7 separate regions of the Homo sapiens genome follow, and regions 1, 2, 3, 5, 6 and 7 are each linked to region 4. The links are contacts of gene promoters, found by promoter capture Hi-C in blood cells and fetal thymus (Javierre and others, 2016). All regions are on one chromosome and are shown on one strand. The core of a region is centred on a gene start or on the middle of the fragment in contact, and the rest is flanking DNA. Distances in the headings are between cores, read along the strand shown.

Region 1 (2,700 bases), core at 90-2,589, 470 kb before region 4:
AAATGTGCTGAGGCCAAGAAACCCCGAGCTAGGGGATTACTGCAATAATCTAGGTGAGAGGTTACTTATTAAATAGCAACTGAGCACCTACTATGTGCTGAGAGCTGAGAACATAGCAATGAGCAAAACAGACAAAGCCCTCTGCCCTCATGGAGCTTTATGCTGCAGTGATGGTGGAAGTTTAGAATGGCATTGGGCAGTGGGGGTGGTGAGAATGGTCAGATCTTAAAAATAATTTTTCGAAGGTAAAACTGACAGGATTTGCTAAGAATGGAATGTGCAGTATGAGAGAAGAGGAGTCAATGTTGATGCCAGGGTTTCATCCTGAGCAATTAGAACAGAGTTACCACTTACTGAGATGGGCCCACTAAGGGAGAAAGTGATTGTGTGGATGGAGAATCAGAGGTTTTGTTTTGGACACATTAAGTAGGGATGAGGGCAATGTGATATTTTAGTCTGGAGGTTAAGAAAGGGATCTCCTTTGGAGAAGACAAATTTTAGAAATTATTAAATGTGAGGAAGATCACTCAGGTATCTGGAGATGTGCAAGAGACTTGTGCAGCAAGCCTGAGCTCTCCATAATTAGGAGGTTGGAGAGTGTCTTAGTCTATTTTGTGTTGCTATAACAGAATACCTGAAGCTGGGTATTCTATTTATAAATTTATTTCTTAAAAAAGAGATTTATTAGACCTAAAACAATAAAAACCCTAGAAGAAAACCTAGGCATTACCATTCAGGACATAGGCATGGGCAAGGACTTCATGTCTAAAACACCAAAAGCAGGGGCAACAAAAGCCAAAATTGACAAATGGGATCTAATTAAACTAAGGAGCTTCTGCACAGCAAAAGAAACTACCATCAGAGTGAAAAGGCAACCTACAAAATGGGAGAAAATTTTCTCAACCTACTCATCTGACAAAGGGCTAATATCCGGAATCTACAATGAACTCAAACAAATTTACAAGAAAAAAACAAACAACCCCATCAAAAAGTGGGCGAAGGACATGAACAGACACTTCTCAAAAGAAGACACTTATGCAGCCAAAAAACACAGGAAAAAATGCTCACCATCACTGGCCATCAGAGAAATGCAAATCAAAACCACAATGAGATACCATCTCACACCAGTTAGAATGACAATAATTAAAAAGTCAGGAAAGAACAGGTGCTGGAGAGGATGTGGAGAAACAGGAACACTTTTACACTGTTGGTGGGACTGTAAACTAGTTCAACCATTGTGGAAGACAGTGTGGCGATTCCTCAGGGATCTAGAACTAGAAATACCATTTGACCCAGCCATCCCATTACTGGGTATATACCCAAAGGACTATAAATCATGCTGCTATAAAGACACATGTACACGTATGTTTACTGCGGCACTATTCACAATAGCAAAGACTTGGAACCAATCCAAATGTCCAACAATGATAGACTGGATTAAGAAAATGTGGCACATATACACTATGGAATACTATGCAGCCATAAAAAATGATGAGTTCATGTCCTTTGTAGGGACATGGATGAAATTGGAAATCATCATTCTCAGTAAACTATCACAGGGACAAAAAACCAAACACTGCATGTTCTCACTCATAGGTGGGAAATGAACAATGAGAACACATGGACACAGGAAGGGGAACATCACACTCTGGGGACTGTTGTGGGATGGGGGGAAGGGGGAGGGATAGCATTAGGAGATATACCTAACGCTAAATGATGAGTTAATGGGTGCAGCACACCAGCATGGCACATGTATACATATGTAATTAACCTGCACATTGTGCACATGTACCCTAAAACTTAAAGTATAATTAAAAAAAAAAGAACTTAAAATGAAAAAAAAAAAAAAGAGAGATTTATATAGCTCATGGTTCTACAGGCTGGGAAGTTCAAGGAGCATGGTGCTAACATCTGCTCCTCATGAAACAGTGGAAGGTCAAAGGAAAGGGGCAAAACTTAGAGGTGTCCTCACTTTGTAACAACCCACCCTCAAAGGGAAACAATCTATTCCCAAGAGAACTAATCCAAGAGTGGGAATTCAATCACTACCTTGAGAACAGTACTAAGCCATTCATGAGGGATCCACCTCCCATGACCCAAACACCTCCCACCAGACCCCAACTCCCAACACAGCCACAGTGGAGATCAAATTTCAATATGAGATCTGGTGGGGATAAACAAACCATATCCAAACCATATTATTCCACCTCTGGCCCCACAAAACTTATGCCCTCCTCATTGTAAAATACAATTATCCCTTCCCAATAGTCTCCAAAAGTCTTAACTTGTTCCGGCATCAACTAGAATGTCTAAAGTCCAAAGTCTCATCTGAGACTCAAGGCAAGCTCCTTCCAACTCTGAGCCTGTAAAATCAAAAACAAGTTTTTTACTTCCAAGATAAACATTCCCATTCCAAAGGGGAAAAAATCAGACAAACTAAAAGAATGACAAGTCCCACACAAGTTCAAAGCCCAGTAGACCGAACATTAAATCTTAAAGCTCCAGGTGCTGCCTCCTAGGCACACTGGTGAAAGGGGTAGGCTCCCAAGACCTTGAGCAGCCCCATCCCCATGGTTTTGCTGGGCAGAGCCCATGTGGGTGCTCCAGGGCTTGAAATCAGACACCTGTAGCTTTCCCAGGCAGGCACTACATGCTGCTAGTAGCTCTACAATTCTGGGGTCTTGAGGGCAGCCCTGCCTT
Region 2 (2,700 bases), core at 96-2,595, 480 kb after region 4:
GTTTGAGTTGTAATGAACCCCTGCTTGTCCATAATCTTTCTTTTAACTCCTGTGCTTCTCTCTCATCCTTTGCAGAGCCTTCACTTTCTGCTTAAAGTGGACCTTGACTTCTCTTTATCTTGCTCCATTTGCACCTGAAACTTGTCCTCAACTGCAGTGCTAATTCCTTGGTAATGTTTTATAACTTTGTCAGGCAGCTAGACACTGTAAGTATAGAACATGCTGGGAAATCCAAATTAAAAATGACAGTTGGCACAAAGCTGACTTCTGGGAGGGACCAAGGAAAAGTAGCCAGAGTGGCAGGATAGCTGCTTCCATCACGGATTGCCAGCAATGTAAAGCGTAGACTCCAGAGGAACAGTGCTAACTTAAATTAACTATGCAGGCATCAGTACTTCTGGTTCTGATGGCCCGGGGATTTCTAAGTAGTAGTGAGTCTCAGCATTATTTGTTATACAGTCTACTGCTAGATGAACAAGGCTAAGTCTACAGAGAAGGTAAATTATAGAAATTAGGCCCCGTCTCTACTAAAAATACAAAAAATTAGCCGGGCGCGGTGGTGGGGTCCTGTAGTCCCAGCTACTCGGGAGGCTGACGCAGGAGAATGGCGTGAACCCGGGAGGCGGAGCTTGCAGTGAGCCGAGATAGCGCCACTGCAGTCTGGCCTGGGCGAAAGAGCGAGACTCCGTCTTAAAAAAAAAAAAAAAAAGAAATTAGGTAAAAGGATTGGAATCTTAGCTAATTGGTCTGAAATTCAGAGCTAGGCCACAGAATTAGTTGCTCTTTCATAAATTTCATTACCTGTACTCTAGCAATTGTAAGTGTTTTTATGTGTTTCTCCCACTAAACAGACTATGTACTTACTCTGAGGGCAGAGAGGCCTCATCTTTCTAAACTGCTGTGTCTAGCACAGTGCCTACTAAATAAGGAAAACTCAATGAATGTTGAATTAGCACTGCAGGTGTCTGATAGAACTTAGCACAATCATGGAAATGTTCTTTATTGTGTCGTCTAGTAAGGTAGCCACGTGCTGGGCTACTTGTGTCTATTGGGCACTTTCTTCATGGCTAGTGTTTGAGGAAGCGAATTTTTACTTATGTTTAATTTTAATGAAAATATCTATGTGTATCTAGTGGCTACTATTATTGGACAGTGCACTTGTATGGTTTATATAATACTTTCAGTGGACTAAAAAGATCTTTGACTTTTTTTGTTTTTTTGTTTGTTTGTTTTTGACTTGTATTCCAAGTGGTCCCAGACTGCTAAGCTTTTTGTTTTACTTTTTGTGATTTTTTAGTTTTTTTCTTCTCTTAATGTCAGCGTTCTTTTTTTTTCTATCATTAAGTAAGCTGTCATCAGCCTTTCTTTTAACTTTTCTGATTTTAGTCAACTATCATATAGAAAGACATATAATCAAGCTTGTAGAATTATCTTTTTTTTTTTTTTTTTCTTTTGAGACGGAGTTTTGCTCTTGTTGCCCAGGCTGGAGTACAATGACGCGATCTTGGCTCACCGCAACCTCCGTCTCCCTGGTTCAAGCGATTCTCCTGCCTCAGCCTCCCGAATAGCTGGGATTACAGGCATGCACTACCACCCCGGCTAATTTTGTATTTTTAGTAGAGACGGGTTTTCTCCATGTTGGTCAGGCTGGTCTTGAACTCCTGACCTCAGGTGATCCACCCACCTCGGCCTCCCAAAGTGCTGGGATTACAGGCGTGAGCCACCGCGCCCAGCAAGAATTATCTTTTTTAAAAGAGCAAGTAGTATAGGAATCTGTGAGTCATTTTACCTCTCCTTAACTTCTGTAAGAGTGTGAAATTACTCATCAGGAAAGAAGAGAAGTCTAAAAAGTATAAATTTTTGTGAGCATTCAGTTGAAAAAATATCAATATGAGATTAGATGAGTCACCAAGGGAGGGAGGGAGGATACCCTGAAGGCACAACCCCTCTATTTGGGAAAAAGGGAATTATGAACGTGAGAAAAGGAACAGAGTTATAGGAAAAAAGAAAAAAAAAATGCTGGATTGTCATTTAAGGCATATAGGGAGAAACTCAAGGAGGCAGATTTGTCAACAACAGCAGATACAGCAAGGAGGTGAGGAATATTGTATAATTTGGTGAAAGCTATATGGGTCTCAATATATTATCAAGTATTTCAATGTGGTCAAGAGTGTTTTTAATATAATTCTTGTAGTTTTCTTCCATACTGATATGCTAGGCATAGAAGGATTCAGTATGTGCATTTTTTTGAAAGTCATTTTTTCCATTCTTGTGCCTGTATCTATATTTTCCAAACACTTTCTAATTGTCAAAATACCTTTGCTTTGCTACTGCATATAATCAGGACAGGCATTAATAGTACTTGCTTTTTGCTCTGAAATTATTCCTTTTTAATCTTACAAAGGTGAATATTTCTATTACAGAATAGTAGGGCTGTTGGTTCAGTAGCAGTCATCTAGTTCATGCTTTGATGCAGAGATTGCGAAGAGATGTTGTTTCTTGTTAAATTCTTTGTACCCAGAGAAGGAGTTTTACTAAAAAATTGGGAAATTAGATTCCCAGCTGTCATAGGAGGGAAGCAAATGGCTTTTTCATTCCCCAAAGTACTGTCTACCTTACTCCTTTGGGACTTCGAACAGGCAGCCAAGAAAAATCAAAAGCTGGGAAAACTTTTTCCCTAAATACCTTTATTCTGGGTTC
Region 3 (2,700 bases), core at 171-2,670, 450 kb after region 4:
CTAACCTTCTCTGACCCCAGTCCTGCCTCGATTCCCAGAAGTAGCCATCTGAGCTTTAGCCACTTCCCTTCTCTGCCTCACTCTGCCCTGAGTCTAGGTCCATGTGTTTTCTTCCTGATTACCCTGCCTGTTCACTTGGCTTTCACCTGGTTAAACTCCACACGCCTCAAGGCTGAGTTTGCTTTATTTCCTCTGTGCTTTCAAAGTGCCTAGTGCATATTCCTGTGGTAGCATTTAGCAACTCACCATATGGCATTTTAATTTTCACCTTACTTGTCTGTGTTTCTTACTGGACTCTGAGCAAAGTGGGAAGCGTCTTGAGACGGAAACTAGGGCTGCATCAGGGAAAGGTCAATCTCTTAGTTATTAGGTTGGTGCATGAATACAATGGCATAGGGAGTGGGAGGAGAGAGCAGTGTGCTATGATTGTTCCTCAGACCACTCACGACTGTGGCCATGGGTCACCTTTATAAATCACATTACCTTCAGGTGAGCACTCTCATAAGAGAAACTAACTGGGAAAAGGTGGGGAGCTGGGCAGAAGGAATCTGGCATATGCAGTGTTTCTCCACTGCACATTAGAATTGCTTTAGAGATTTGGAACATACCAGTGTCAGGCCCCACCCTGAACAGTCTGATTTGGTTGGTCTGGAGGAGGGCTCAGGTATTTGCCTTTTTAAATGACTCCCAGCGATTCTTTTTTTCTTTAATATTTTAATTTGACAAATCATGATGTATACATTCATGGGGTACGCTGTGATGCTTTGATATGTCTATGCAACCCGGAATGATTACATCAAGCTGATGAGCGTTAACTATCACTTCCTTTACATAACCTTCCTCATCATTTTTTGTGGTGAGACATCTGAAACTTACTCAATGATTTTGAGACATACACCTACATTATTGTTGACTATAGTCCTTCTGCTATGCAACAGTTCTCAAAACTTACTCCTCCTGTCTAACTGGAATTTTGTACCCTTTGATTGACAACTCGCCATTCCTCCCCACTCCCACTCCCTCAACTTCTGGTAACCATCATGCTTAAGATATGGAATCAGCCTAAGTGTCTATGAACAGATGAATGGATAAAGAAAATGTGGTATATAAACACAATGGAATACTATTCAACCATAAAAAGGAAGAAATCCTGTCATTTGCAATAGTATGGATGAAACTGGAGGCCATTATGTTAAGTGAAATAAGCCAGGCACAGAAAGATAAATACCGCATGATTTCACTTATATGTGGAATTCCAGTGATTCTTATAGGAAGCAAGTTGAGAATCTCTGTTTAGGAAAGTGTGGGGTTAAAGAGCTGGAGGTATCTGCCATATGTGTATGGGAGTAAAAAGAGGTCACCCAGCCTGTCCTATCTATTCCTTTGCTTTACACGATTGAATTTTATTCTTTATATTGCAAACTGCTTCAGAGGACAATTCTCAAATCTAAACACACATTCATTCTGCTCCAGCAAGAGTAAAGACTAAGGGAGGAAAATCTATTACAAAACCATTCAGTAAATTATCTCTAGTTTCAGAGGAAAGCCCTTGGCCACTTGTGGTAGGGAATCAACATTTCTTTTTTTCTTTTTTTCTGGAGACGGAGTTTTGCTCTTGTTGCCCGGGCTGGAGTCCAGTGGCGTGATCTCGGCTCACTGCAACCTCTGCCTCCCAGGTTCAAGTGATTCTCCCGCCTCAGCCTCCTGAGTAGCTGGGATTACAGGCGTCTGCCACCACTCCCAGCTAATTTTTTTTGTATTTTTAGTAGAGACAGGGTTTCGCTGTGTTGGCCAGGCTGGTCTCAAACTCCTGATCTCAGGTGATCTACCCGCCTTGGCCTCCCAAAGGGCTGGGATTACAGGCATGAGCCGCTGCACGTGGCAGAATCAACATTTCTTGAGACCCCTTCTATGTTAGAGGTTTTCACATAGTTTTCTCATGGGAAGTACAGAATAATTTTACTAAGTCTTTGAAGTGACTCTTACATTGGCTAGAATCAAATAAAAGACTTAAAGCAGAACCTTAGGCATGGGTAGAGTTGTGATTGCCCTCACACTGGGCCCCTGCCCCTGGGCCATGACCAGAACACATAGGGTTCCAGCTGCCCTTTGATAGGAAACTCCACACTGTGTCTGGGGGTCTGGGTACCTGCAGATCAGGCCAGCCTTGAGCAAAACTGAATGGAGATGGCAAAGGCTGTCTCTGCTTCTTATGGCATTTTCCTACTCTCTGATCCTTTGTAAATGACAGAGCATGGCATCATGAGATAATCAACTAAAGAACCACATGATAAAAGTTTACTGGTTTCACAGAAAGTAATTCTTCCATTTAGTTATTTTAACTTCATGAGGTTCCTTGAGAAGATCCTTCAGGAATGATCTTAAGATGGGAGCCATTTTAGACACTTACATGGTAGATGGGGGAGATATATTTGTTAACAAATGTATGAGATATAGTTTACATATTATAAAATCCACTCATTTCTCAATAGCTCTATGGTAGAAACAATTGACGTGTCTATCCATGGATAAATGAATACATAAAATGTGGTATATACATACAATGGAAAATTAATCAGCCATACAAGGGAAGGAAATCCTGACATGTTATAATATGGATAAATCTTGAAGACATTTTTCTAAGTGAAATAAGCTAGCCACAAAAAGACAAATACCATATGATTCTATTCATATGAAGTA
Region 4 (2,700 bases), core at 155-2,654:
TCCAAACCTTCTAAAGAGTTGGCTATAGAAACAACCAAAGAAAAGGGGCTGATTTCGAAATTATGTGTCAGCAGGAGTAGAGAGAGGAGAGTTGTAAGAGGTGATATGTGGAGAGGTCTAAGTGTTCAGGAAAAGCAAGAACTGAGAGCCAGAAGTGACGGTGCAATCCTTGAGAGGACATTGGCCGTGGGGAACACCACAAGGTGGATAAGGGACTCAGTCAAGTTCAAGAAAATCTCTGTGGTAGGATGACTCAGCTGGATTACAGGAGCCATTTTTGTTATTTTCAACCATAATTTTTCAGGAGATATTCATTACTAGAAAATGACAAGGTCACGAATTCACTCCCCTTCCTCTTTTTTTCTATTAAATTTCTGGGCCTCAGTTTTCCCATCTATAAAATCTAGAGATTGGGCCTAGAATATCTCTGTAGTTTCCATTAGAGTCTATAGCTCTAATAATAATAACAACACATTTTTATGTTCTCTTTTGAGGTAAATTTACATGCAGTGAAATGTACAAATCTTAAATGTCCCATTCCAAGAGTTTTGACAAGTGCATATACTTCTGTAACCGAAACTCTTAGCTATAGAATTTTTTCATCACTACAAAAAATTCTCTCAAACTCCTCCCCGACAGCCAACCACTATTCTGACTTTTATCACTATTGATTAAATAATTAATATTTAATAGCTATTGTTAAATGCTAAGCTTTGTTTTATAGAGCTTCATCAGTATTAATGCGTGTATTTCTTACAAGAGTTGCAAGATGGATATCTCCATTTTTGCAGATCAAAACGTTAAGAGGTGAGAAAGGCGCCTCTGGTCATCAGCTACCAAGCACAGGGGCAGGACGTGAACTAAGAATTCGTTTTAGAAGCCCACGCTCTTAACCTGTTTATCCTAGAGTCCACAAACGATTGCCAAGAAACAGCATAAATCCAAATTCAGTCGAAAGCAATGCCATTTGCAAATTCTAAAACCTCCTGAATAATCCTAAAGGCCATATGCATTCCATCTTATCGAAGGATTCCCTTCTATCCCCCTCCCCAGAGAATGGAGAAAGGGGGTGCGAAAGACTTCAATTCGGTTTGACTGGAGAAAAACACAGAGGTGGCGTAGGATCCACACATCCCTTGGGGGCAGACCCAGCGGCGGACGCCTGGACAGGCGGCGGGAAAGGCGCTGCGACGCCCCGGGTGCCCCCTCCTTCGACGCCACTGGCATCACCTCCGAAAGCAGCAGGCACGAAGGTGCCCTGCCACGGGGGCTGGACGCAGTGGAGGCAGGCTCATCAAGCACGACCAGAGCTCAGTCGGCCACACGTCCTCCTCAATGTCACTGTCTCCCTGCTCTCCCACCCCGCGCCGCTGCACCTCCCTCCCCCCGGCAACCTGGGCGGGAGTCCCAAGCTCCGCCCCAGAGCGGACTCACAGCCCCCGCGCTCCCTCCCGCGCTGCGCCCACCGCGCGGCCGCGGCTGCCATGGCAACACTACGCCGCCGCCGCCTTTTCACGCACGTCGCGAGCTAACGGACTCGGCGGCGGCGGCGGCGGCGGCCTGCGCCCCACCCGCACCCCATCTGGACCGCATCGCTGAATGTGCCCGGACCTGCGCCTTCTGGGTAATGAATCCGAGAGAAAGGGGCGAGGGCGAGACAGCAGGTGGTGGAGGGCTCTAGCCAACAGCCCCTCTCGGCCTCCCACTGCCGGAGACGCCAGGGCAGTGGGCTGCGGGGTTCCTCGGGCGCTGGCTCCCGTGCGGGGACGGGGAGGGGCGCGGGAGCGCCAGGCTCGCGGTGCATCATGGGAATTGTAGTTCAGCGACTCCTCGGGCTCGCGGTCTTGGTGGGGTAGCTCGGACTGGCGAACTACAAAGCCCGGCGGCCCCGACCGCCGGGAAAGACCGATAAACTTTGAGCGGACCGGGACAGAAAAAAAAATCTCTCTTTGTCTTGAGGGGGCTGTTGAGTGGTCGCGGACCTGGGCTCTGTGCGTTGGGAAAGGGAAGTGGAGGTGAGCCTCGGGCTTCCCGCCCTGTAGCTGGGCCCGCCCCAGTTGCAGCGCTCAGCCCCACCCCGGCTGGGCCACCGCCCTGCACAGTCTCAGGGATGAGCAGCCGCCCAAGCTGCAGGGCCTCGGGTCTTCGGCGCCTCTGACCCTCGCAGGTTGCTGCCTTTCGGTGCAGAACCGTATGTATGTCACACATTGGATGTGAGACCTGAGAAACCGTGTTTTAACAGGTTTTTCTCCTTTCCTGGATACGTTTATTTCTGGGTTAGTCATGTTTGTTTTAAAGTAGCTCAGAGGTGTTTGCATATTAAACCCATCAATTGGTAATTACTCAAAGGGCAGTAATGTTTAAAGGTTAAGTGTGGAAATAGATAAAAAGATGTCATTGCGATTATATGGTGGTATCTGGCATTTTTAACTTTTTGCATTTTTGAATTTTATTTCTTGAGGTTCAAGGTTGTGAAATGAGTGCTCCACCCCACCCCCCCCTTGCCAGCCTGAACACTGCCTACACATATTTTGATTAGTTCAGCTTTAAATTACTAGTAACTTTTAAAAACAGACTTTTTTAGCAGTAGGCAGCAATAATTCTTTGATTATTCCAGTGTTATTCAGAATTTCTCAGCATGTTTTCGGAAGGAAAAATACCATGTTTTAATTATTTAGTTAATTCTTTATATATTTTTTA
Region 5 (2,700 bases), core at 4-2,503, 510 kb before region 4:
ACTGCACTTTCAGCATCCAATTTGATGAGAGCTGTAGGATTCAAGATTTACTTCCGTGAAAACTGATAAGTGTAAAACGTAAGGCCAAAGCACCAGGGCCAATTATATCTACAGTCTTGTTACATTTGTCATAATCCTACAGCAAAAGAAACACCAAACTAATCATTAACTTGACAAGCTATTCACTCCAGACCTGCCTTCCTATTACATGTGCCTTAGAAGATTTGGAGCATTCTTTTCTGTTAGAATTCTTTGTGGTATCAAATAAATACTCCTTTTTTCTTCAAAGCTGACTATTTTGGATTATTCTGATGAGTTGGGAGAGACATCAAAGGTCCTTTCTGTAGGTGAGTCAGTTGGTTCATTCACTTACTGAGTACGTATTATGCAGGCATGTCATGCCAGGCACCATGGATGTGACTGGGAGTACAACAGTGGCAAAACCAGACACAGCCCCTGGTCACATGAAGGCCCAGTCTAGTCAGGGAGACGCAAGAAGTCTGAGTAATGACACCAACAAATAAATAATCCCAAGCGGGGCTGAGATTTAGCATGGAAGAAGTGGCTCTTCAAGAGCAGGTGGCCAGACACCCAGCCTAGGCTGAGGGTCAGGGCAGCTGTGACCAAAAGAGGGAGATGCCTGAGACAGGAAGGAGGAGTGAGGCAGGGATGGCACAGGGAGCGGCAGGTGCCAGAAGCTGGTGGGTGGGGACATAGTACTTGGACATGCTATGCAAAGGGGACAAGGGCACCTGAGCACGAGGAGCCAGGATAGGTACAGACAGGGGCCCGATGTGGTGGAGCCTTGGGAGCACCCTTAGGAATGCAGTCTTTATCTTAAAGGAGACTGGGACCCATAGGTTTTAACAAGGTGAGACGCAATCAGATTTACATATAGAAAAGTGTTTGGGTGAGTAGATTGAATAGAGGAGGACCAAATATGAAGCTGGCTTAGGCATGCAAGGCTGGGGTCTGAGGCCAGGAAACAGAGTGTAGGAACAGCTGGAAATAAGGGGTGGAAGTGAGAATTACAGAGGAGGTGAAAGAAACAGGCACTTGAGAGAGGAGAGATTTCTGAGGAGAGGATTTCTGAGGGGGCGGGTGCGTCAATGAGGACTCCAACACGTCCGACTTGCATAACTTAGTGAGTGCCGTGCCATTCACCAGGAGTGGGCCAGGCTGGAGGGGTGGATGTGGTGAAATATCTGAGTGGTGAGGCTGAGCAGACCTTTGGAGATATGCAGAGGAGAGATGTGGGCTGGAGACATGAACTTGGAATTCATCACCATCTAGATGGTCGTCAATGTCCTGGGCATGAATGATGAGCCAAGGGAGAGAACAGAATGAATCTCGGGTTCCTGGAAAATGACTCTGGAATGTGGGGCTGATATGAGTCATGGAACTTCACATCAAGCTCCTGCATTTCAGGTCCAAACCCATTCACTGCTGTGCAACCCGTCTATGACCGTAACAGCTAAAAATAAAAAGGCTTTGCTCTACACATGAGAAACCTTAGGAAAAAGGCTTCAGTAGGACAGACCATCAAATAACACAGGATTCTGGTGTTTATAAAGTCATTTATCACAGGCCGGGTGCGTGCCTCACACCTGTAGTCCCAGCACTTTGGGAGGCTGAGGCGGGTGGATCACAAAGTCAGGAGTTTAAGACCAGCCTGGCCAAGATGGTGAAACCCCGCCTCTAGTAAAAATACAAAAATTAGCTGGGGGTGGTGGCAGGTGCCTGTAATCCCAGCTACTTGGGAGGCTGAGGCAGAGAATTGCTTGAACCCAAGAGGCAGAGAATTGCTTGAACCCAAGAGGCAGAGGTTGCAGTGAGCCAAGATCACACCACTGCACTCCAGCCTGGGCGACAGAGCGATACTCTGTCTCAAAAAAAAAAAAAAAAGTCGTTTATCACAAAGTTTGAGTCAAGTCTGCCTGCATGTGCCTAACTACGCACACTCCTCCGTGGACCAATTGGCATGGTCAGGCTGAGACAGCCCCTGGGGGACAGGCTTAGTTCCTAATGAGATTGAGACGGAATGGGTCCCAGAAGTTTTCTTTTCATGGTTCACTTGTACAGAATCAAAGATGCTCACTCAGGTCTCTCTGCTCATATATCTTGCTCACTAATTTGATTAACCCCTATCAGCCAAGCCCAGGATATATGGGATCCTGGGACAAAGATCTTTGTTTTTTTTGTTGTTGCCCACTGAGAACATGTTGATCAAGGTGTAGTGTAATTATCAGTCCATGAACTCATCAGCCCACTTTTTGTTGTAGTAAACAAATGCAAATTCGGATTCTTGAGCGCATTTCTTTCTTCCTCTCTGTTTTCAGATACGGGCCCTAATAATCAAATCACTAATCTGCGTATTTTTATGTTGCCTTAACTGGTAGGCAAGCATTCAGAATTTCCTAGTGCACCAGTCACTTGTAAATGTCGGTGGTCTATAGCGTGTTGCACCAGACTGGGGGATGACAAGATGTGAAGAAAAGGCCATTTCTGCCGTATGTCAGAGGCATTCTGGCATATAACCCCATGCACAGAAAGTGGTAGGACCTAAGATATTCACCATCATGTCACAGGTTTTGATTTCCAAAAGCTGGTTCCCCAGAGACTGGTGTCATACTTCTAAGGAAGCCATCTGCAATTTGGTCTGCTACAATCACACAGACTAAAATCCATAGTCCTTCAGAC
Region 6 (2,700 bases), core at 172-2,671, 490 kb before region 4:
GCCAAGGACACACATTTGTAATTAAAATCTGCATTTATATTTGAAAATTTCACCAGTTGGTATTTTTTTTCAAGTCGGCGGACGCATCTCTTTCTCCCTGGCTCCCAGCTCTCGTGCCTTCGCGTTGACTTCTTTTTCAGGATCTTGGCGCACCTAAGCCTTGTGGGGCCTGGCTTTCTAAGGAGCAGCAGAGAATGCTTGGGTGAGGAGGCCTCTCAGCAGGCTGGAAGCGTTTCCTTTCCTATCCAGCCTCCCTCCCTGCCAGGGAATCGTCAAGCCTGAGGGAAGTGCTCCCCCTCCTATGTTTACGAAGCACTAAATTTACGAAGTCATTAATTCCCTTCATAAAGACGGAGCCTAATGGAGTTTTCTATTAGTCATTGAGATCGCGGTTATAACCCTGAAAGATCAAGAAAGCAATCAGGAGTCTAAATTGAAGTGGGAGTCGGGGGGACAGCAAAGACGTTTCTCCTCTTTAGCTGTCAGACTTTCCTGTTTTAAAGGGAAATATTGTGAATATCTTAATCACTACCTCACACATTTGTTTATTATTATTTTTCCTTTTCAGAACATTCAGAAATGTTGTGTAGACGCACAGGATTCATCGTCCAGGCATGTATATCTCAGGGGGCGGTGTTCTTTGTCCTAGTAGCTGAAGCTACCCAAAGATTCCCCCAAAATCCAAACACAGTAGATGCTCAGTGCTATGTGTTGAATGGATACATGAAGGAATGCAGCCAAACCGAGAGGCTGGGGAAGGATTAATGAATTCACGGGCTGTTTGTGGCAGTTCTCTGACCCGAGGCCCCACATGGGACTTTTGTACCTTCAAAGATGTGAAGATTAGCTAAACTGTTGCTGTTTAGCAAATCTTCTAGGGTGAGTTTCTAGGGTGTTTCTAGGGTGAGTGGTCACCTTAGGGAGAGCCAGGGTCAGGGTCACGGCCCCCACAAGGCCAGGCACACAGCCCTGGGGTGCTCTGGACAGGAAAACTAGAAATAGAGGACCCTGTTTTCCCAGTGCCCAAATTACTCAGGCCTCCAGGGAGTCCCTTACCCCATTCGAGGCCATAGAGCTGCAGGGAGCCATCCTGCCCTGAGCCTGCTCGTCTCTTTGCAAGCCCAGGCCACCCACTTTGGGCTTTGGGCGGAGAAGACAGGTGTATTTCTAGTCAAGAGAAGTTTCCCTGCACAGAGTCCAAGGAACGGCCTCCTCTGGGGCCTTACAGGCCCTCCACAGCTCAACAGTGAGCCCAGCAAAGACGCCTCTTGACTTCGGTGTAGCCTCATCTTCCAGAGAATTCCCTGAGATGCCACGTGGCTGTAAGAAACGCTGCTGCAGTCCAAGGAGACAGCAAGGGAAGCTGTGTTGGAGGGAAAGCAGCAGTTTTCAAAATACACCCACAGACTTGTACCAAGACCACCAGGAAGGGAAGCTCATTCGAAATGTAGACTCTCCCCCTACTACCGCCACCATCAGCAGCTCCTGCAAAACCAGAATGTCTAATGCCGGGGAGTGGGGGAGGTCGGCCTTCACTCGAGGAAAGAGGCTTAAAGGGTTTCTTCACCTGTCTGTGGGCCCCTGACACGTGCAGCCCTCCTGGGCTCCAGGAGTGGTCCCAGAAGACTCCCCTTTCAGGTGCAGGAATCCTGGGTTCCACAGCAGGGGTGCTGCCAGTGGCTGCCTGGGACTCCCAGGATATCCCTCCTGGTGAAGCCAGTCAGCAGATCAGAGGTTTCAGTCCTTACTGACTGTGAAATCTAGTGTGTGTGGTCACTCTTTTTACCTCCTTGCTCCTGCGTAAGATCCAAGTGGAGAGTAGAATCTCTCCACCAGCCCCTCCATAGTGTGTTTCAGGTACCCTAGACAGGGCCTCTGTCCCCCTTGGCTACCTACTTGGCACTTGGGGTCTGACCCTGTCCTGTTTACATCCCTGGCGAGGAACCTCCCTGAGCAGTTGTCAGTGGGAGAAATGTACAGGGGGGCACCAGGATCAGGGCTGACTTAAGGGAAGGAATTCCCAACCTCTGGCTGTACAGTGAGGTCAGGGAATCTTGGAGACTGTTGCACCTTTGTGGGACCCATCTCTTTGGAGAGCCTTTTGGAAGGGTGCTGGGATGTTCATCTTTGTGTTAGTCTTTCCACTGGGCCATGCCCATGCTGCTACAGGCTAGTAGCTGGAGCCAAATCCTGGCCCTGCGTCTCACAGCTGTGTGACCTCGGGTCCATTACTCACCTTCTCTGAGCTGGTTTCCCTATCTGTAAAGTAGAAACAATCATAATGATAATGGAGACAATGTTCCTGCAGCGTGAATGAGATAACAAAAGCTCATGTCAGACGCGTAGGTGGTGCTGAAACATGTCTGCTGCTTCTCCCCTCCTCCAGCGTTTCACACTGTGCACCCACACTGGGAACTTAGGGGAGTTCCTGGACCCTCAGGGGAATGATATCACAGAACCATTCTAATTGCCTAAGTCTCACAAGCAATCTGATATGCCTAGTATTTGTTCCTGAGTCTGAGAGGAGATCGTTATTGTTCATCTTTTAAAGCAACAGGTCGCCCAGTCTGTTGACGATACCTCCCATCAAGACATATGCTCCACCAAGCTAGGAGCGGATGATGCCAGAGCCGCCTTGCTTCTTGGATTTTCTTCTGAGCCCCACCGTGCTGGGGAGACTCTGAGCATGGTAAATATTTA
Region 7 (2,758 bases), core at 241-2,740, 440 kb before region 4:
AAGATTTCCCCTGCTTCCTTCTCTTTCTCATGTTTCGGGTCTTTGGTTTGTTTTTAAGTAGCGATTTTGTCTGGGTTATGCAAAAGGAAAAAAATTCTTAATTGTCTAAGGGATTTGCTCATTAGAAATGTGAACTGCCTAGTGATTTGACATTGGGTCCGTATTCAACCATTCCTGACTATTAGTTCAAGTCACCTTCGTTCCTAATAAAACATGGTCAGCCTGGAGTTGAATGAAATTCTCCCAGCTGTAAGAAAATGGGTTCCTCCTGTGGATTTCCAGAATATTCTCAGAGCCTTGTTCCTGGCTCTGGCTCAAGCCAGTCCCTCTCGCCATCCAGGACTTCAAGTGCAGCTTCTACCCAAAGCTGCAAGCTTATGTGCCCCTCCTGGAGAGGGGGTTGCTGCTGGGCTGAATTCAAGTGGCTTTAGCCATGACAGCTGCCCAGTGGCTGCTCGTGTAGTCTTTGAAGTTCACATGGTCTGGGCCCAATGCCATGGCTGCCTCTTATGGGCTATGTGAGTGTGGGTGCATTTCCTAGCCTCAATGAGCCTCAGTTTGCTCATCTACAAGAGGTGGATGGAGACATTAGTAATTACTTCCCTAGACTGTTGTGAGAATGAAACAAGGTGAAGTGCCACCTGGCTCACAGTAAGCATTCAATAAGTGGTGGCTATCATTGTTCCAATGTCTTCCTTCTTAACCCCCAGTGGAAATGTCTTTCCTATTGACAAATTATTATTATTCTGGATTTTCTTTTGAGAAATTTTGCGCTATTTTTTCTGCAAAACAGAACTGATGAACCCATTTTGAGTCTCATTCCTTGAGGTCTAAATAGGAGCTACTCAGCAGATCTTGCAACAATTTGCTGTGGTATGTTCAACTTGATGTGCTGCACTATTCATGTTTTTATGGAGAAAAGAATTCGTTGCTATATTCCCTTTCATTTTTCTCCACCTCTGGGAATAAAACATAGAAACTCTTTAGTGTTCCGTTAATTAGTTTGGATTAATTTAAAGTAAGTAAATATAATTAATAACAGTTTATTAATAATAGTGTCAATACTAATTGACAGGATCATTGTAGACCTATCACCTTTAAATAATTTTACAAGTCTATGCCACTTGAAAGTGAGTCTAGGCCAGGCACCAGTGGCTCACGTCTGTAATCTGAGCACTCTGGGAGGCCGAGGCGGGCAGATCACCTGAGGTAAGGAGTTTGAGACCAGGCTGGCCAGCATAGTGAAACCCTGTCTCTACTAAAGATACAAAAATTAGCCGGACATGGTGGTGCATGCTGTAATCCCAGCTACTCAGGAGGCTGAGGCACAAAAATTGCTTAAGCCCGGAAGGCAGAGGTTGCAGTCAGCCAAGATTGCACCACTGCACTCCAGCCTGGTGACAGAGTGAAGCTCCATCTCAAAAAAAAATAAAAATAAAAAACAGAAAGAAAGTGAGTCTAGAATGGACACCAAGAGATAAGAGATGCAGGGAGAAGCGACATGAGGGTGGTATTCCAAAAACATGTTTTGATACACTCTGCAAAAAGTGGGCGGTAGGGGTGTCTGTAGTTAAATAATACATTCCCCTCTTAGAAAACCAAGAATCAGAATACCCTTAAACGTCCTCAAAAGTCTGTCTATAAAGAACTTGTTATCCCCTGTAACACCTGTTAAAAGTCCATGAACTTGTAATCCATTTAGAAAATTACACCTCTCCAGAGACCCTTCTCCTCTCTGCAACCTGTGCTTACTTACACTCACAAAGAGGAATCTTAGGTCAGCTAACAAGGATTTTTCTCCAAAAACCAAACTTTGACCAAGGCTGCTCTAGCCATGCTCATTGGCTGGGAATAGGACATTAAACTGTGTTTTATACATGTGAACAGGCCAGGCACGGTGGCTCACACCTGTAATTCCAACACTTTGAGGGGCCAAGGCGGGTGGATAACCTGAGGTCAGGAGTTCAAGACCAGCCTGACATGGTGAAACCCCGTCTCTACTAAAAATACAAAAATTAGTCAGGCATGGGGGCATGTGCCTATAATCCCAGCTACTCAGGAGGCTGAAGCAGGAGAATAACTTGAACCTGGGAGGCCGAGGTTGCAGTGAGCCAAGATCGTGCCACTGCACTCCAGCCTAGGCAACAGAGTGTGACTCTGTCTTTCAAAAGAATGAATTAATTAGAATTAAAATATACACGTGAACAGAGTCCAGGTCCAATTCCTTTTAGCTCTCAAACCCTGGCTCAGCTCTGCCCTCATGGGAGATGGGTGGAGGGACAGCCCATTAATTAAGGCCAAGTCTGAGCCGATGAGCCACACTGGCTAGTGTATCTGTTCAGCAGCTGCCCCAGAATCTTGAGCTATCTGTATCAGTCAGCAGTTGTGTTTTATGCTAAAAATACATGCATCTGTCTTTTTAATCCACCAGTATCATTTATCCTTCATGCTGTTTTTCCTTGATAGCCATGGTCCCTAAACATTTATGATCCCACACCCCATGAACCAAAAATTTTGAGCATGCAACCTTATAACAAGTATATTTGCATATAAACTATATACACATACTACTGTCCATGTGTATATTAAAAATGAGGAAAGCTTCATGTCTTACTTTTCAGATAGCAAGATTAAATGCATGTTCTTTTCTTCCTGCAGCCTCATGGGTCATCTTGCAACCCTTTTCAGTGCTCTTGGATGCCCCTGGAGAAGCTGCTGCTGGGACGACTTTCTCCTAGAATAACACACAACCCCATTC

What was found. The method cuts DNA at HindIII sites, captures the fragments that hold promoters and counts their contacts. A CHiCAGO score of 5 or more calls a contact.
Region 1: a fragment that was not itself captured here is called in contact with the fragment with the promoter of KATNAL1 in region 4 in 4 of 17 cell types (neutrophils, monocytes, total B cells and 1 more); the score reaches 11.9 in neutrophils.
Region 2: a contact is called between a fragment that was not itself captured here and the fragment with the promoter of KATNAL1 in region 4, in 1 of 17 cell types (naive CD4 T cells). The highest score is 5.8, in naive CD4 T cells.
Region 3: a contact is called between a fragment that was not itself captured here and the fragment with the promoter of KATNAL1 in region 4, in 1 of 17 cell types (fetal thymus). The highest score is 6.1, in fetal thymus.
Region 5: a contact is called between a fragment that was not itself captured here and the fragment with the promoter of KATNAL1 in region 4, in 2 of 17 cell types (neutrophils and naive B cells). The highest score is 6.7, in neutrophils.
Region 6: a contact is called between a fragment that was not itself captured here and the fragment with the promoter of KATNAL1 in region 4, in 8 of 17 cell types (neutrophils, naive B cells, total B cells and 5 more). The highest score is 12.8, in neutrophils.
Region 7: a fragment that was not itself captured here is called in contact with the fragment with the promoter of KATNAL1 in region 4 in 5 of 17 cell types (neutrophils, naive B cells, total CD8 T cells and 2 more); the score reaches 8.9 in neutrophils.

The regions. Positions count from the first base shown.
Region 1 is chr13:30,780,413-30,783,112 of GRCh38, reverse strand. No RefSeq gene overlaps it. Among named protein-coding and RNA genes, the nearest start is that of LINC00398, 21 kb to the left of the region's middle. The HindIII fragment of the contact is 5,080 bases long and covers 1-2,700 here.
Region 2 is chr13:29,830,343-29,833,042 of GRCh38, reverse strand. All of the region lies in intron 1 of UBL3 (ubiquitin like 3), which reads left to right. Among named protein-coding and RNA genes, the nearest start is that of UBL3, 19 kb to the left of the region's middle. The HindIII fragment of the contact is 151 bases long and covers 1,270-1,420 here.
Region 3 is chr13:29,853,431-29,856,130 of GRCh38, reverse strand. No RefSeq gene overlaps it. Among named protein-coding and RNA genes, the nearest start is that of UBL3, 4.2 kb to the right of the region's middle. The HindIII fragment of the contact is 3,516 bases long and covers 1-2,700 here.
Region 4 is chr13:30,306,255-30,308,954 of GRCh38, reverse strand. It overlaps KATNAL1 (katanin catalytic subunit A1 like 1), which reads left to right and starts at 1,404. Exons shown (of 11, transcript NM_032116.5): 1 at 1,404-1,624. RefSeq lists silencers at 1,400-1,629, 1,660-1,769. The HindIII fragment of the contact is 2,852 bases long and covers 714-2,700 here.
Region 5 is chr13:30,817,120-30,819,819 of GRCh38, reverse strand. No RefSeq gene overlaps it. Among named protein-coding and RNA genes, the nearest start is that of LINC00398, 15 kb to the right of the region's middle. The HindIII fragment of the contact is 7,684 bases long and covers 1-2,700 here.
Region 6 is chr13:30,796,982-30,799,681 of GRCh38, reverse strand. No RefSeq gene overlaps it. Among named protein-coding and RNA genes, the nearest start is that of LINC00398, 4.9 kb to the left of the region's middle. RefSeq lists an enhancer at 1-1,078. The HindIII fragment of the contact is 3,010 bases long and covers 1-2,700 here.
Region 7 is chr13:30,746,601-30,749,358 of GRCh38, reverse strand. The region is part of intron 2 of ALOX5AP (arachidonate 5-lipoxygenase activating protein); the gene reads right to left. All of the region lies in intron 1 of LOC124903146 (a long non-coding RNA gene), which reads left to right. Among named protein-coding and RNA genes, the nearest start is that of ALOX5AP, 12 kb to the right of the region's middle. The HindIII fragment of the contact is 2,227 bases long and covers 377-2,603 here.